Regions from separate parts of the Homo sapiens genome. Here region 1 is linked to region 2. The links are contacts of gene promoters, found by promoter capture Hi-C in blood cells and fetal thymus (Javierre and others, 2016). All regions are on one chromosome and are shown on one strand. The core of a region is centred on a gene start or on the middle of the fragment in contact, and the rest is flanking DNA. Distances in the headings are between cores, read along the strand shown. Region 1 overlaps CCDC63 (coiled-coil domain containing 63). Region 2 holds the start of TCTN1 (tectonic family member 1).

Evidence for each region. The method cuts DNA at HindIII sites, captures the fragments that hold promoters and counts their contacts. A CHiCAGO score of 5 or more calls a contact.
Region 1: a contact is called between a fragment that was not itself captured here and the fragment with the promoter of TCTN1 in region 2, in 5 of 17 cell types (M0 macrophages, M1 macrophages, endothelial precursors and 2 more). The highest score is 6.4, in M0 macrophages.

Annotation. Positions count from the first base shown.
Region 1 is chr12:110,881,526-110,884,225 of GRCh38, reverse strand. It overlaps CCDC63 (coiled-coil domain containing 63), which reads right to left. Exons shown (of 12, transcript NM_152591.3): 8 at 1-196. Among named protein-coding and RNA genes, the nearest start is that of CCDC63, 36 kb to the right of the region's middle. The HindIII fragment of the contact is 1,393 bases long and covers 685-2,077 here.
Region 2 is chr12:110,612,847-110,615,546 of GRCh38, reverse strand. TCTN1 (tectonic family member 1) reads right to left here and starts at 1,418. Exons shown (of 15, transcript NM_001082538.3): 1 at 1,145-1,418. The coding sequence starts at 1,364. RefSeq lists an enhancer at 1,092-1,141. The HindIII fragment of the contact is 6,908 bases long and covers 1-2,700 here.

The DNA.
Region 1 (2,700 bases), core at 132-2,631, 270 kb before region 2:
ATCATCTCCATGTCGTTGTTGAGCTCCGTGACATACGTGAACCGAGCAAAATTCTTCTCCTCCTTGGCCAGAAAATCTTCAATGAGCTGGTTTAGGTTCCCACTCTCAGCCAGCTTCAGCAGCCGGAGGTGGGCCACCTCATAGCTCTCAAAACTCTCTCCCCTGTTCTTCTTGACATGCTTCTTTGCCTTGAGAGCTAGGAAAGGAAAAATCAGCCACTGTGACACTCAAAAGGAAGCTCCTCAGATCCGTGCCAGGCAGACAGTAACGTGATCAATATTATTGTGGCCAGGCATGGTGACTCACGCCTGTAATCCCAACACTTTGGGAAGCCGAGGCAGGCAGATCACCTGAGGTCAGGAGTTCGAGACCAGCCTAGCCAACATGGCGAAACCCCGTCTCTACTAAAAATGCAAAAATTAGCCAGGTGTGGTGGCACATGCCTGCAATCCCAGCTACATGGGAGGCTAAGCCAGGAGAATTGCTTGAACCTGGGAGGCAGAGGTTGCAGTGAGCCAAGTTTGCGCCACTGCACTCCAGCCTGGGCGATGGAGCAAGACTCCATCTCAAAAAACAAACAAACAAACAAGCAAACAAAAAACAAACAAACAAACAAAAAAATATATATATAGTAGTATGCTTTAGGGATGAGGCTAGATGTTTCCAGGAGATAGAGCAGAAGCTTCACCCATCATTCATTTCACAAATATCTCAAGAAGCATTTACTATGAGTCACACACTGTGCTAGGCACTGCTGATACAAAATCCCTGCCCTGGCCGGGCATGGTAGCTCACACCTGTAATCCCAGCACAGGGGTTGAGCCCTGGAGTTCAAGACCAGCATGGACAACATAGCAAGACCCCACCTCTACAAAAAATTTTTAAAATTAGGCCGGGTGCAGTGGCTCCCGCCTGTAATCCCAGCACTTTGGGAGGCCAAGGCAGGTGGATCACGAGGTCAAGAGACTGAGACCATCCTGGCCAACATGGTGAAACCCCGTCTCTTCTAAAAATACAAAAATTAGCTGGGTGTGGTGGCATGTGCCTGTAGTCCCAGCTACTCAGGAGGCTGAGGCAGGAGAATCACTTGAACCCAGGAGGTGGAGGTTGCAGTGAGCCGAGATTGCGCCACTGCACTCCAGCCTGGGTGACAGAGCAAGACTCCGTCTTAAAAAAAAAAAAAAAAAAATTTAAAATTAGCCAAGTGTCGTGTTGAATGCCTGTGGTCCTAGCTACTCGGGAGGGCAAAGTGGGAGGATGGCTTGGGCCTAAGAGGTCAAGGCTGAAGTGAGCTGTGACTGTCACACCACTGCACTCCAGCCTGGGAGAAAGAACTAGACCCTGTTTCTTAAAAATAAATAAATAAATAAATAAAAGGATCGTTTAGGCACACCTGACCATGTGACCTTTTTACAGGTTGTGGCTCCCCACTGTTCTGGGGAGGCTCAGGCGATCCTCCCACCTCAGACTCCCCAGTAGCTGAGACCACAGGCAAGTGCCACCATGCCCAGCAGTTTATCCCAAACACCTGCTTTTCCTCTGAGTGTCTAGAATTTTGGTATGTGCTAGGCAGAGGGTGTCTACACGACCAGCCCCCAGTAAGAATTTGGGGTACTGAATCTCTAGTATACCCCACTATGAGATAACCTTTTTTTTTTTAAGAGACAGGGTCTCACTCTGTCACCCAGGCTGGAGTGGCGCAATCATAGCTTGCTGCAGCCTCAAACTCCTGGACTTAGGATCTGCTTTTTTCTACCCCTCAGCACCTTGTCACCATCAGACCTTCTGAGATCAAGCCATCCTCCCATCTCAGTCTCCAGAGTAGCTGGGACCACAGGCATGTACCACTATGCCCAACTAATTTTTTTTTATTCATTGTAGAGATGGGGTCTTGCTCATTTGCCCAGGCCAGTCTCAAACTCCTGGCCTCAAGTGATCCTCCCGCCTTGGCCTCCCAAAGCACTGAGATTACAGGCATGAGCCACCATGCCCAGCCTAGTAGATAACTCTTGACATGATGTGTGGTCACAGATCCTGAAAGAACCATGTGTGCTCAGTGTGACTGTACTTGGAAGCTTGCGCCCAGTTTCCTCCAGACGCCGGACCACACACCTTCTCCCTGTGCTGATCTTGCTTGGTGCCTTTTCACTGTAATGCATCACAGCCATGAATGTGCCTCAGTGCTGAGTCCTGCGAGATATGCTAGTGAATCATCAAACCTAGAGATGAACCTGGGGACCCCTGACAATAAGTCTCCTTCTAAATAATAGAAAGAGAGTCCCAGATGAAGACACATGCTGTAAATTAGGGTTGGCAGATAAAATAGAGGGTTCTCAGTTAAATTTGAATTTCAGACAAATATATTTTTAAGTATAAATATGTCCCAATTATAGATAAACAAAAAAGTTTTATCATAAGTATGTCCCAAATGCTGCATGAGACATAGTTATCCTAAACATTTATTTATTGTTTATTTGATATTTAAATTTAACTAGGCATTTTTTTTTTGAGAGTCTTATTCTGTTGCCCAGGCTGGAGTGCAGTGGCATGATCTTGGCTCATTGCAACCTCTGCCTCCTGGGTTCAAGTGATTCTCCTGCCTCAGCTTCCCAAGTAGCTGGGATTACAGGCACTCACCACTATGTCCAGCTAATTTTTTTGTATTTTTAGTAGAGACGGGGTTTCACCATGTTGGTCAGG
Region 2 (2,700 bases), core at 169-2,668:
ATCACGCCACTGCACTCCAGCCTGGGTAACAGAGCGAGACCTTGTCTCAAAAACAAAAAAAGAATAAAAAAAGATTAAAAGTACTGCATATCTATTGGGGTTACTCTCAATTCACACAATCGGAAAATTTTAAAAACTTTTTTTGAGATCATGAACCACTTTAAGAATCGGCTGCTATGAACTCTCATCTCAGGAAAAGGCATATTCACAAAGTTTTGCACTCAATCTTAGCGGGTCACAGTCATTCAGTGAAGTCATCCATGTCAATTTTTTTTTTTGAGACAGTCTTGCTCTGTCGCCCAGTCTGGAGTGCAGTGGTAATTACTGCAACCTCTGCCTCCTGGGTTCAAGCGAGTCTCCTGCCTCAGCCTCCCGAGTAGCTAGGATTACACCATGCCCGGCTATTTTTTCTATTTTTAGTAGAGACTGGGTTTCGCCATTTTGACCAGACTGATCTTGAACTCCTACCTCAAGCAATCCACCCGAGTTGACCTCCCAAAGTGCTGGGATTACAGGCGTGAGCCACGGCGCCAGCCAAACGTCAAATTAGATTATAAAATATTTCCACTAAATGTGTAATTCTAGAATTAATCATTTTCTGAAAAAAATGTTAATTATCCCTACATATGACTCCTAAGAAGTGAGCATAACCCCTCCCTCAATAGCTTTCCACCTCCAATTCAACACAGGAGGAATCCTGGGTTTTTAGAATTCAGGTCAACAGAGAAGGGTCTTAACATAGTCACATTTAGTAAGATAGACCTTTGGCCTCTCTTTAAGTGAAAGTTCAGTGCAGCCAAGGCACTAATTTCCACCATTGTCTCGACTTAATTTCGTCTTGGGCTGCAAGAATTCATTATTGCTCTTTGCATCACTGTTGTCTGGGACCACTTCAAGTATTTTCAAAGGTTTGATACCGTTCCACTTAAACTCTGAGACCCGGTTTTCTCATTTACCTGACAGTGATAGTAACAGCTACTTCTCAGGGTTATTGTTTAGAGAATGGACGTTTATGGAACACTCAGCAGTGTCTGCACACAGTAAGTGCTCAATAAGAGTTAGCTATCATTATTACGTCCTCACCGGGGCTGTCCCCTTGAGGTTGGATCACTGTGGACTCCAGGAGCTGGCACATGGTACCCACCGTCCGTGACTGGGGTAGGCCTGGGGCCGGAGGAGGGCCCTGGAGCCCTGGGAGTCCCGGGGGGCCTGGTCGACGGGAAAGTTCCGAAGGTGGCCAGGGCTGCCTCGGTGGAGTTGAGGCCCTCTGTCGTCACCGCCGGGGTGGCATCGGTCTGGGCGCTCACGGAGGCCCAGCAGCCCAGGAGCACCACCAGGAGCGGCGGGAGACCTCGCGGCCTCATCTCCCAGGGAGTCCCAGCGAGGCCCGCGACATGGACAGCGCGTTGCCCGGCAACCGCGACAGCCAGGCGCGGGGCATCACGGGAAGGGGCTTGCGAAGCCGCGAGAAGCTGCCGGAGACTGACTGGGGCGAAGCCTGGATGAGGCAGGGGGCGGATCCCGGATGAGGCCGGAGGGCGGCGCCTGGGTGAGGCAGCGATGGCAGGCACAGGGGCGAGCACTAGTGAGCGGGTGTGAAGCTGGCGTAAACGAGGGGCGTGTAAATCCCGGCTGTGGTTTCCAACCGGTCCGCGGCGCTTGCTTAAAAAATGCAGATTTTCTGTAGTTCCAGCTACTCGGGAGGCTGAGGCAGAAGAATCGCTTGAACCCGGGAGGTGAAGGCTACAGAGAGCCGTGAGCGTGCCACTGCACTCCAGCCTGGGCGACAGTGTGACACTCTGTCTCAACCAAAAAAAAAAAAAAAAAAAAAAAAGACGGATTTCCAGGTACCACCTCAGGAGATCCTGAGTCAGTTAGTCTAGGGCAGGACCCAGGAATCAGTTTTTGGGGGATTTTTTTTGAGACAGGGTCTCACTCTGTCGCCCAGGCTGGAGTGCAGTAGCGCGATCTCGGCTCACTGCAGCCTCGACCTCTGGGACTCAAGCAATCCTCCCACTTCAGCCTCCTGAGTAGCTGGGAACTCAGGCGCGCGCCACCATACCCAGCTAATTTTTGTATTTTTTTTTTTTTTTTTTTTTTTTTGTAAAGACGAGGTCTCCCTCCGTCGCCCGGACTGGTATCGAACTCCTGGTTCAAGTGATCCACCTGCTCCAGCCTCCTGAGTCCTGAGTAGTTGGGATTACAGGCGTGAGCCACCACTCCCAGCCAGGAATAAATATTTTTAACAAATGTCCGGACGCAAGCAGATGAGTTGGACGGAAATTTAGGAAGCGCCGTCCCAACGCCACTAACGTGGGTGTTTGGAAGGAGCACAGGGATCTGTGAGATCACTGTCTCTGAATTTTCTCTATCCCAGACTCTGTCAACACTGGCTTCACCTTTTTATTTTAGCTGCATCTCACAAGGTTGCCAGATAACTTCTGTCTGCTGTATTGTGATAAAGGGGACAAATGAACACTTAATACCTTTTATTATTTTTTGTAGAGAGGGGGTCTCACTATGTTGATCAGGCTAGTCACAAACTCCTGGCCTCAAGTGATCCTCCCGCCTCAGCCTCCCAAAGAGCTAGGATTACAGGCATGAGCCACCACGCCAGGCCTAAGAACCTATTTAAAGACAAAAATCTTTTACAAAAATTAAGTAAAATAATTTAGACATCTTAAAGGGGAAAACAAAGCA